2 separate regions of the Homo sapiens genome follow, and region 1 is linked to region 2. The links are contacts of gene promoters, found by promoter capture Hi-C in blood cells and fetal thymus (Javierre and others, 2016). All regions are on one chromosome and are shown on one strand. Each heading gives the region's core, a stretch centred on a gene start or on the middle of the fragment in contact. The rest is flanking DNA. Distances are from core to core; before and after follow the strand shown. Region 1 has its middle 11 kb from the start of LINC02684. Region 2 holds the start of GLB1L2 (galactosidase beta 1 like 2).

The links. The method cuts DNA at HindIII sites, captures the fragments that hold promoters and counts their contacts. A CHiCAGO score of 5 or more calls a contact.
Region 1: a contact is called between a fragment that was not itself captured here and the fragment with the promoter of GLB1L2 in region 2, in 1 of 17 cell types (endothelial precursors). The highest score is 5.3, in endothelial precursors.

What each region holds. Positions count from the first base shown.
Region 1 is chr11:135,062,001-135,067,580 of GRCh38, reverse strand. No RefSeq gene overlaps it. Among named protein-coding and RNA genes, the nearest start is that of LINC02684, 11 kb to the left of the region's middle. The HindIII fragment of the contact is 5,291 bases long and covers 405-5,580 here.
Region 2 is chr11:134,327,602-134,333,237 of GRCh38, reverse strand. GLB1L2 (galactosidase beta 1 like 2) reads right to left here and starts at 1,250. Exons shown (of 19, transcript NM_001370461.1): 1 at 1,091-1,250. The coding sequence starts at 1,176. RefSeq lists a silencer at 1,101-1,400. The HindIII fragment of the contact is 5,891 bases long and covers 1-4,586 here.

The sequences.
Region 1 (5,580 bases), core at 1,801-4,300, 730 kb before region 2:
ATCTAGGAGTATCCTTTAGAATCCCTTGTGGTGTTTTGTAAATGCACCACTGTCCTGGAACCACCACCAGAAATTGGAATTTTGTAAAATTTGAGTGGGAGCTGTGCGCACGTACGTTTATAAATTTCCATGGTGATTCTCACACTTATGCAGGTTAAAAAACATCAGTCTGGATCAGTGGCTTTTCACTCTGCTGCTCATTGTGATTACTTAAAGAGTTTTTAAAAATGGTAATTCACAGGTCTCACAACAGACTAATTAAATTGAAATATTTGAGGCGCCCCATATATTAACACTTTGAAGATCTCTCCAGGTCACCCTAATGTGTAAAGTTGAGAACTGGCAGCCAAGATCAGTGATGTTATCATCCTTAGACCAGATACATACAGAAGATGGGATAAGCTTTGAGGAACCTTTACAGCAATTTGACATTGCTGCTACCTCCAACTAATCAGGGATTTTTTTTGCTTTTATTATCTTTTGTTTTTCAATTATTTCTTTACATTTAAATTTATTTTGGTTTTACTTTTTTCTAATTACTCTTCCTTGTTTGTCTTATCTTTGTTTTTCATTATTATGACATTTTACAGTCTACGATCGATTGTAAATTGAGATAAACATGCAAACAAACAACTGAACAAGCAAAACTTGGTCCCACGGCCTGCTCTTGATAAACTTGGAGCTCCCCTCCAACTCTTGAGCCTCTAACTGTGGTCAGGCTTGACGGCTGGCTGCAGGCAACAAGACAATCAAGGAGGACAGTGCCCCGGGGTACCCAGAAGCAGGTGTTGCTGGCTCAGCCCCACTTTCAATGTGTAACCTGCCAAAAAGGCTCCTGATTTTCTGTTGGGTAAAGAACCATCAAGAACCTTCACTATCCTCCAGGATTTTGAAGGAACAACTAAGGAACCTTCCCTCTTTCAGTCAAATGATGAGCAACTCTGGCTAAACAGATTTCCTTATCCACAAATCTTGAGCTTGAAATGGTTGAGATTTATGTGTTCTGACTATGACAACCCCTCAAAGACACTGTCATTGGCTGCTCAGACCCAGATTCCTGGGGCCACTTGTCCTTTTATGAGCCTGGGTCTCTGAATGTTTGCTTCTGTCGGTGCCTCTTTATCTCTCCAAAGCCTTCTCCCACCTTCAAATGAAGAAACTTAACTGGTATTCTCAGCTTGGAATGTATAATATTCCATAAGATGTTTAGCCTTATGTGATGAAAGGACACCCTGTCCTCACGTTTTCCTTACAGAGCTCCAGGGCATAAGGAACCCATAGACTTCTCCTTGCCTCCTCAGTGGGCCTGACTCTGTGCAGAGAAACTCAAAGGAGGTCTGATGGGATGACCGACACTTCCTGCCCAGTCTGAACAAAATTTCTGAGAGCACTCCAGGGCCCTGGTGAAGCTCACGGAGGTGACATCTGACTTCTGCTTCCTCCAGATCCTTGCCTCTGCCCGTGTATCCCCAGCCTCCTCACCCTCCCCACAGGAATTCATCTTTCAGGCTGCTTCTTAGTCCTCCTGTCTACAATGAACTCAAACAAATTTACAAGAAAAAAACAAACAACCCCGTCAAAAAGTGCGCGAAGGATATGAACAGACACTTCTCAAAAGAAGACATTTATGCAGCCAAAAGACACATGAAAAAATGCTCATCATCACTGGCCATCAGAGAAATGCAAATCACAACCACAGTGAGATGCCATCTCACACCAGTTAGAATGGTGATCATTAAAAAGTCAGGAAACAACAGGTGCTGGAGAGGATGTGGAGAAATAGGAACACTTTTGCACTGTTGGTGGGACGGTAAACTAGTTCAACCATTGTGGAAGTCAGCGTGGTGATTCCTCAGGGATCTAGAACTAGAAATACCATTTGACCCAGCCATCCCATTACTGGGTATGTACCCAAAGGATTATAAAACATGCTGCTATAAAGACACATGCACACGTATGTTTATTGCGGCACTATTAACAATAGCAAAGACTTGGAACCAACCCAAATATCCATCACTGATAGACTGGATTAAGAAAATGTGGCACATATACACCATGGAATACTATGCAGCCATAAAAAAAGATGAGTTCATGTCCTTTGTAGGGACATGGATAAAGCTGGAAACCATCATTCTCAGTGAACTATCACAAGGACAAAAAACCAAACACCACATGTTCTCACTTATAGGTGGGAGTTGAACAATGAGAACACACGGACACAGGAAGGGGAACATCACACACTAGGGCCTGTTGTGAGGTGGGGGAAGCGGGGAGGGTTAGCATTAGGAGATATACCTAATGTTAAGTGACGAGTTAATGGGTGCAGCACACCAACATGGCACAGGTATACATGTGTAACAAACCTGCACGTTGTGCACATGTACCCTAAAATTTAAAGTATAATAATAATAATAATAAAAAGAAATGTGTTGATCGGAAGAAAAATACAGGTCTGCAGATCAGGGACTGAGCCCTCTCTCCTTCATCTGCCAATCCCGTCCCCCAGAACCCCACACAGTTGGGCAATAAACTCACTGCTGTTAGAAAGACCTCTCCATTGCTTTAGGAGCTGAGCAAAGGCTGCCAGGGCAGGGGTGAGGAACAGAGGCTTGAGAGAGAGACAGAAGGCACTCAGCTGTTTCCAACCTCAGAGAGGGAGGAGCTGAGATGAAAATTGTGCTACTCCACCTCAATAGCCTGCAAAATCCGTTCTCAGGGGCAGATTGCAGTGGCTCACGCCTGTGATCCCAGCACTTTGCGAGGCCGAGGTGGGCAGATCACCTGAGGTCAGGAGTTGTAGACCAGACTGGCCAACATAGTGAAAGCCTATCTCTACTAAAAATACAAAAATTAGCCAGGCATGGTGGTGCACACTGGTAATCCCAGCTACTCAGGAGGCTGAGGCAGGAGAATTGCTTGAACCCAGGAGGCGGAGGTTGCAGTGAGCTGAGATTGCGCCACTGCACTCCAGCCTGAGTGCCAGAGCGAGATTCCATCTCAAAAAAAAAAAAAAATCTGCTTTCCTAAACAAGCTGTGCTTGGCTTTCCAAAGATACCCTAAAAAGATAAAGAGAAAACAGAAAACACAAAACTCCTGCAGGTTAATAATGATGATTTGTATTTACAGATTCTTGAAACAACTTAAAAAAATTGCAATGACCCACCAGAGTAAATTAAAACTGGCTATTCATGTAATGTTGAGGTGTCTACTGGCTGATGGATGGTAAATTTAGGAGAAGAAATCATAGGCATTGTGAATGTGGTGCTCGGAGGGCAACGATGAGTGATACAACTGCAAAAATGCTAAGTTACCTTGAGAATTTCCATAGGCATGAAGCAGCTCCCACAGACTCACAGTGTGTCCAATCCACGTGTCCAACATCAGAGTGACGCTGTGATGCCATTAAAACATATCCATAAACCTCTTTACCAGTGGCCATCTAAAACAGTGAATGATTCACGTGTGCCACATGTGAAGGCTTAAAATGGAAACTTGATAAATTGGTTTGAAAATATGCATCTTATACTTCATTTCTCAAAGTATATTCTCTTCAGAAATAGTACCTTCTTTTCTTCTCCCAGAGAAACCTGAAACAGCATCAATTATTTACTTATAATTCTTAGTCTTCTTCTTATTACTGTGTGACAGAGTTTAAATATTGGTCTCCTCCAAAACTCATCTCGAAATGTGATCCACAATGTTGGAAGTGGGACCTGGTGAGAGGTGTTGGGCCATGGGGGTGGATCTCTCATGATTAGCTTGGTGCCTCCTTTGCAATAATGAGTGAGTTCCAGGAGAACTGATTGTTATAAAGAGCTTGGCACCTCCCTCCCCACTCTCTCTTTCCTTCTAACTCCCCATGTGAAGCCAGTTCCACTTCCCCTTACACCAGGAGTGGAAGCTCCCTGAGGGCCTCACCAGAAGCAGATGCTGATGCCATGCTTCTCGTATAGCTCAGAGAATATCAGTGGATGATAATTAAACTTGTGCTCCCCCACCTCAATACCCTGCAAATCTGTGAGCCAAATAAACCTCTTTAATTTCTGAATTACCCAGCCCCAGGTAATCCTTTAGAGCAACACAATAGTACAGTACCCAATGTGTGCAGCATTGAGCATATGAGAAAATGCTCCTGTGCTGGATCATTGAACATGTGCAATTGTTGAAAGAAAAGACATACACAGCAATGAATCCACACATAGGCTCAAACACAAAGACACACGCACACACACACAAAGTACACACACACTACTCAGATGCACACACAGTACTCACATGTGTGCCTGCACACACAGTACTCACGTGTGCCTGCACACACAGTATTCTCACACACAATACTCACAAGTGTGCATGCCCACACACTGTACTCACATGCACACACAGTACTCACACGTGTGCATGCACATACGTAGTAGTCACACACAATACTCACACGTGTGCATGCACACACCCAGCACTCACATACACCACAGCACTGGCACACACATATGCTCTTTGAGCTAAATGAAGATTTCTCTCTAGGAAGATTCCTTTTTCTTTTGAAACAAACTCAGTTCCTTTGCTGTATATGTAGGGCAATACATAATTTCTAATTTACCATTTTTCAGTTTGGGTAAACTGTTTTTGGTTTTGATTTTTTAAGGGAGTGGTCTATTTCAACTACAAGGTTGAATTTATTTGTATAAACTTGTCCAAAATATTTTCTTGTTAACGTTTTAACGTCTGAAGGATATAGTAATGATTCTTCTTTCATTATTAGTGTTGGTAATTTATATTTTCTTTTTTTCCTTGAGCAATTTAACCAAGATTTATCAGGATTTTTAATCTTTTCAAAGAACTACTTAATAAACATTCTACTATTTGTTCATCTTCTATTTTATGGATTTTCAATCCTAGTATTATTACATCCGTCCTTCTGCTTACCTTAGGTATAATTTTTTCTTCATGTTCTAGGTATTAAAAGTGAACATTTGGATTATTGTTTCTAAACATATCTTGTTTTTCTAATATGAGGGTTTGGAGCTATACATTTTCTTTATAATCACTGTTTTAATTGCACCTTACATATTTTGGGAAGTTGCCTTTTCATTTTTGTTCATTTCAAATACACTTTAAAATTTTAATCTTTTTGTTTGGTCTTTAAGTTATGTGGGTTGTTTAATTTCCAAATATACAGGTGATTTCCCAAATACAGTTTTGCTATTGATTTGTAATTAATTTCTCTTATGGACAGAGAACATGCTTTATGATTTTATTCATTTTAAATATGCTGAGAATGGTTTTATAACCCGTCATATAGTTTACTTGATGAACATTCCATATGCATGTAAAAAGAATGTATATTCTGCAGGTCTGGATTTTGTTTTCTTCCTTCAAAGAGTTTTGTCTTTAAAGGTCATTACTTTACTGGTGAATCAGTTTATCATATTTCAGGTTTGGCTTTAGGATTTTCTGAGGCAAGGGGGAATTGATCTAATTTAGTCTTTACTCTTGAACTAATGTAGCCACACTCCTAAAGTGTGGGCTTTGAGGTTTCGACTGAATTCAAAGATTTTCTGCAAAATCTCTCCACTCTAATT
Region 2 (5,636 bases), core at 1-2,500:
AAATCCGTCCTTCTCCCAAACAATATCATGACGTCCCCACTATCTCAGAAACAAGAATCCAGTCTTGACAAGGTGTAAACATAGAGTTTGTCAGTGTGTTCTTCTGGCCACAAAGGACTTCCAGATATTTATCTCCATCAAAAACTTCCCTGTCTCCCAGGGGAAGTGCAGAGAAACTAAGAACTTAGTTTCTCTAAGTAAAAAAGAAGCAAATGACAAAGCCGAGCGGCGTAGGGCCTGCCACCACTTCCAACCGTTCAGTTCATTCGATACTGCCGGTCGGCTTCCCACTGGAGGTTTTGAATATGGAAAGTGCTGACCTGAAAGATAGGGTCAGGGCTGTAGAATCCTTAAAATAAGCACAGTTTAGAAAAATGCTGGGCTAGGGCACCCAGAAAACTTTTTCACAGGCTGTGGGTAAATCACAGTATCACTGAAGCCACTCCTTTGCCATAAACAACATTTGGAAAAGGGGGAGAGGAAAGGGTGAGCTGGTAACAGGTGAATGGTGGGAAAGTGGAGAGAGACGACCTATCAGTCCTACTGTGCAAATAAATCATGGCCCGGGATCTTGGAGGCCCACGGACACTGTTCTTACGACCCTGCCAGGCCAGCTGGCTAGACCATACCTGCCAGGCTGAAGCGCCGGCCTCTGCGGAATAAGGCGCCTCCCAGAGGCTTGGGAGGAAAAGGGGGGCCTGGGGGAAGGGCAGAGGGAGCTCTCCGCGGAGCAGTGGGGACGGGGCCGCGATGGGGTGCGTCTGAGAGGGCTCTGACGGCTGGAGGGCTGCGGGCGTCCACGGGGGGCAGAGCCCGGCGTCACAGGCGCGGCGGGGTGGGCGGCTCGGGGCACAGACGCCGGCTCCCGAGGGCACGCCGGGTGTCGCCCAGAGGCCTGGATCGCGCGGCAGGAGTAGAGTGCCTGCAGCCGCAGGGGAACTCGGGGGTATTGGGGAGCTCCCAGAAAGAAGCAGCTGGGGCTGCTCCCCCCGGGAACTCGGGATTCGCGGGTCGCGGGAGGAGAGAACCCGAGGTGCGGAGGGCTGGGGAATGTGGGGTCCGGCAGGTGCTGCGCGAAGCTCTCTCTCACCTGCGGAGCACCAGGAAGCCCAAGACGACCAGCAGCAGGAGTCCCAGCGTGCGGGCCGGCCTCCGCCGGAGGCTCCACGTGGTCATCGCGTGTTCTCTAAGCGCGGGGACCCGGGTTCCCACTCCAGTCCGCACTCAGCCGCGCGCGGGAGCCTCGCCGCGGGGGGCGGAGCCGCGCACTGGTCGCCTGGGCAACCGGCCCGCCGGCGCTCATTGGCTGGGGCTCGCGGCTCCGCGCCTGCAGCCCTAGGCCTCGCGCAAGCGGGGGCGGGGCTGGCCGGGGCCGGGGCGGGGCCTCTGTCGGGGGGGGGGCGGGGCGGGGCTGGTGGGCGGGGACGAGGTCTCGGTAGGAGAGGGGGCTGGCGGGGGCGGGGCTGGCGGGGCGGGGCCCCGGCCGGGGGCGGGGCGGGGACAAGGTCTCGGTAGGGGACGGGTCTGGCCGGGGCGGGTCCCCAGTGTCGTGGAGCGGTGCAGAGTCCGCCGTCTTTCTGCTCGCGAGGCGCAGGCGGGTGCGGGAATGCTGCGTACCTGTCAAACGCCGAGGTAAAGTCGCCCCTCGCAGCGCTACATCAGGAAGAACGTACAAAAGGCGTCCGCAAAGCAGGGGCAACCAACAGAATCTTTTAAAACAATTCAGATTCTGAAGCAAACAACTTTTTCAATAACAAATCATCCTGTGAAAAGCCAGGATTTTGAAGAATTGTATCTGGACACATTTCAGTGTGGTTCATGTCTGAGGAGGGGGGGTTCCAAATATTTTCTGTCTTTGGTTTCTGCGAGTCTTACTCTGGCCTTGACTCCAAGGGCTTCCAATTTTTTATTTTAAAAAGGTCCATATAAAACTCTCACATTTTAGGAAAGGAAGAATATCATTCTTATTCTGAAACAGAATGTATGTCCCAAAGAACATGATGTAGTATTTCGGTGCAACTTACACTGTAGCAATCACAAACCCAACTCCTCCCGGGAACAAAATTCAGATTTTACTGAAAGAAACTCGAGGAAGGGCAACGTTTTCCAGAGCATCCGGGTTTGTCGAATGTCTCCCTTGCCGCATGCTTTGAATTCATTTCCTAAACGGGGGCATAGTTTTGAACTTGTAAAGCCGACAGGAACCAAATGAAATTGCAGATCTTGGAACAAAGACACAGACTTGGGTATGAAGTGTCCTTTGTCTAGCGTTAAGCACATATTTAGTCAAGGAGCAAAAGTTAAATCAAAGAGAGGCAAAAACAAACGAACAAACAAGAGGAAAAAAACCCTGGCAGAACTGGGGAGGATAAGCTGGGCTTGGAGCAATCCGGGTCTGACTTAAGCACCGCAAACATTCCCAGAGGCGCGCAGAGGGAGGCCCACTCCCGTGGACGCGCTCCAAGCCCGCTCCTTTTCTCCATTGGGTAAGGCTATGATTGCTTGATGGCTATGAAGTCTGTGATGGAAACATGTTGGTTTAATTGGAATATACCAGCTAGCCCCGAAGCGTGTGGAGAAATTGTCAAAGGCTAGCCCCTTTGCCTGCAGGGGACCATCCGAAAGACATGCACCCCACATTCATCCTCTCACTTCTGGTCACGTTGAACAGTGGCAGAATCTATCAAATATAAGGGAATTCTCAAATGGTTTAAGCAATACAAGCATCTCCATTTTTCTTCAAACGTTAGCAAAAACTTAACATGGGTTGTGAAAACCGTGAACTCCTTGGCCCACCCTTGTATCCTTCGTTTTTATTTGTGCGAGAAAAATATACATAACTGAGTGTTTTCAAAAAAATTTCCCCTTAACCTTGTGGGATGTTCAGAACTAGGGACACACCCTGCTCACAGTCTAGGAACAATTTTACTTTATCTGGGCTTAATGATACCACAGAATGCTACAAAGTTAGCACTAACCCGAGATGCGTCTTGCTCATAGGCTGAGACTTTTTTTTTTTTTTTTGAGACAGAGTCTCACTCTGTTACCCAGGCTGGAGTGCAGTGGTGCAATCTCAGCTCACTGCAATGCCTCCCGGGATGCAAGCTATTCTCCTGCCTCAGTCTCCCGAATAGGTGGGACTGCAGGCACCCACCACCTTCCCCGGCTAATTTTTGTATTTTTAGTAGAGACGGGGTTTCACCATGTTGCCCAGGCAGATCTCAAACTCTTGACCTCAGGTGATCCACCTGCCTCGGCCTCCCAAAGGGCTGGGATTACAGGCGTGAGTCACCATTTCCAGCCTGAGACTTTTGTTTTTTAAAACATTAGGCCGGGTGCGGTGGCTCAAGCCTGAATCCCAGCACTTTGGGAGGCCGAGGGGGGCAGATCACGAGGTCAGGAGATCGAGACCATCCTGGCTAACACGGTGAAACCCCATCTCTACTAAAAATACAAAAATTAGCCGGGCGTAGTGGCGGGCGCCTGTAGTCCCAGCTACTCAAGAGGCTGAGGCAGGAGAATGGCGTGAACCCAGGAGGCAGAGCTTGCAGTGAGCCGAGATCGTGCCACTGCACTCCAGCTTGGGCGACAGAGCGAGACTCCGTCTCAAAAAAAAAAAAAAAAAAAAATTAGCAAGATACTCCTTCAGTGTCTCCTTTCCAAAATGTTTAGTGATCTTAACCCAAAGCAGACAGTGAAAATACTCAAATCCCTGGGAACAAAAGCTACAGTTACAATGAGCTGGCATAAGAGTGGGGTAAAAAAGTGGTCTGCCAAGGTGCTTGGCTTGGTAATGAATCCCTGGTACACAGGAATCATCCTCTTCCCAGGCCTTCTTTCTAGTGTCCAGGGTTTAGAAAATACAAGAAATGCTTTTTAAAAAAGTTAAATCTTGTTGGTGTGCCATTTCCATTGCTCTAAGTCAGAGCTCCAACAGACCCAGAGGGCACAGTTCCTTCCTTGAAAATTCCTGTATCACAGATAATCAGCGGGAAACCGAAACACATACAAAATGCACACACAGGAGAATAAAAACCACACTCGCTCAAAATCAGTACAGTGAAGTCACGTGGGAAAAGCGATCATGTCAAACTAGTCTCATTTGCTGTTTCACTTTTTATTTTTAATAGGTAACAGGTTTACAGATCAGTTATTCATTCACGTAACTCATTTTTGAGGGCACTCTGCTAATGCTTTAAACACAGGATATCTGAATTTTAGGAAAACATTGGCAAAATTTCTTTTAGTCATGAGAATAAGATGAAAAATGTGGCTTCTACGATAGTACAGTCACTTGGGCCCCTGGACCAAGATATAACCCTCTCCTCCCCACCTCCTCCTTATGGACAGACACCTCTGTCCAGCAACCCCCATCCACCCTCCCCTCAGGAGAAGCAAAGTCCAGTTATGATGTCAAGTTGCCAGGGGTCTTGAACAAAGAAATTCAGAGCACAGGAGAATTCCTGGGAATAAATGAGGGCCATTTCAACCCTAGCCAAAACAAAATAGAAAGTCCTGGAATGGAGATTTGGCCTAGGAAAAAGAAAAGAGAAGGCAGATTTAAGATAAAGGAAGTAGACAAAGCTTTTCAGCCCCAAAGATATGTGAGTGGGACTGGAAGGGGCCTGTGCACATCCGATAAGGATGCACAGAACTTGATCTTTGGCCTTACCAAGCCTAACTATCATTTTGTAGGCTCAGCCTTTGAAGGCCTAATAGCCAAAGATCTAATTCTGCAGCATTGTATTTATTAAAAAGTAAATGACAAATTTTAATGACCATAAACAACATACTGAACACTGTTTCACATGCTTGGGATGTATCAGTGGACAGAACAAAGATCTCTTCTCTTTGAAATTTCTGTTCTAGCTAGGGAAGAAAGACAATAAAACTTAACAGAATGAATAAGTAAACTGTAGAGTATATTCAAAGGTAGTAAACTCCATTGCAAAAATTTAAGAAGTAATAAGGGAGCCAGGCCCAGTGACTCACGCCTGTAATCCCAGCACTTTGAGAGGCTGAGACAGGCAGATCATTTGAGATCAGGTGTTCAAGACCAGTCTGGCCAACATGGTGAAACCCCGTCTCTACTAAAAATACAAAAATTAGCCAGAAATTGCTTGAACCCTGAAAGTGGAGGTTGCAGTGAGCCAAGATCATTCCACTGCACTCCAGCCCGGGCAACAGAGTGAGACTCCATCTCAAAAAAAAAAAAAAAAAAAAGTAATAAGGGAAGGAGGACTGGGAATGTGGTGGGGAGGGGTCTGCAGAGAGGCGGTCTCCCCGGAAAGACATTAGCTGAACAAAGATCGGAACACAGTGGGAGTTCTCCATGCAAGCGAACCAAGATAGAACCTGGAGGAAGCACTGTCCAAGCAGACAGAGCAGCTCGTACCAAGGCCCTCAGGAAGGAGCATGACCTGGTGTCCCTGGTGTCCAAGGAAAGGCTAGGAGGACAGCGTGGGAGGTGATGGCAAGAAGGCAGGAGATGAGGACAGAGAGATACAGGGGCCTGATCATGCAGGGCCTTTAAGAGCAGGGCTTTGACTCTGAATGAAATGGGAGCCACTGCATGGTTTGAACATGGCGGTGATGATAACTTAGAAGGATCACTGGTGCCATGCAGTAATCCATAT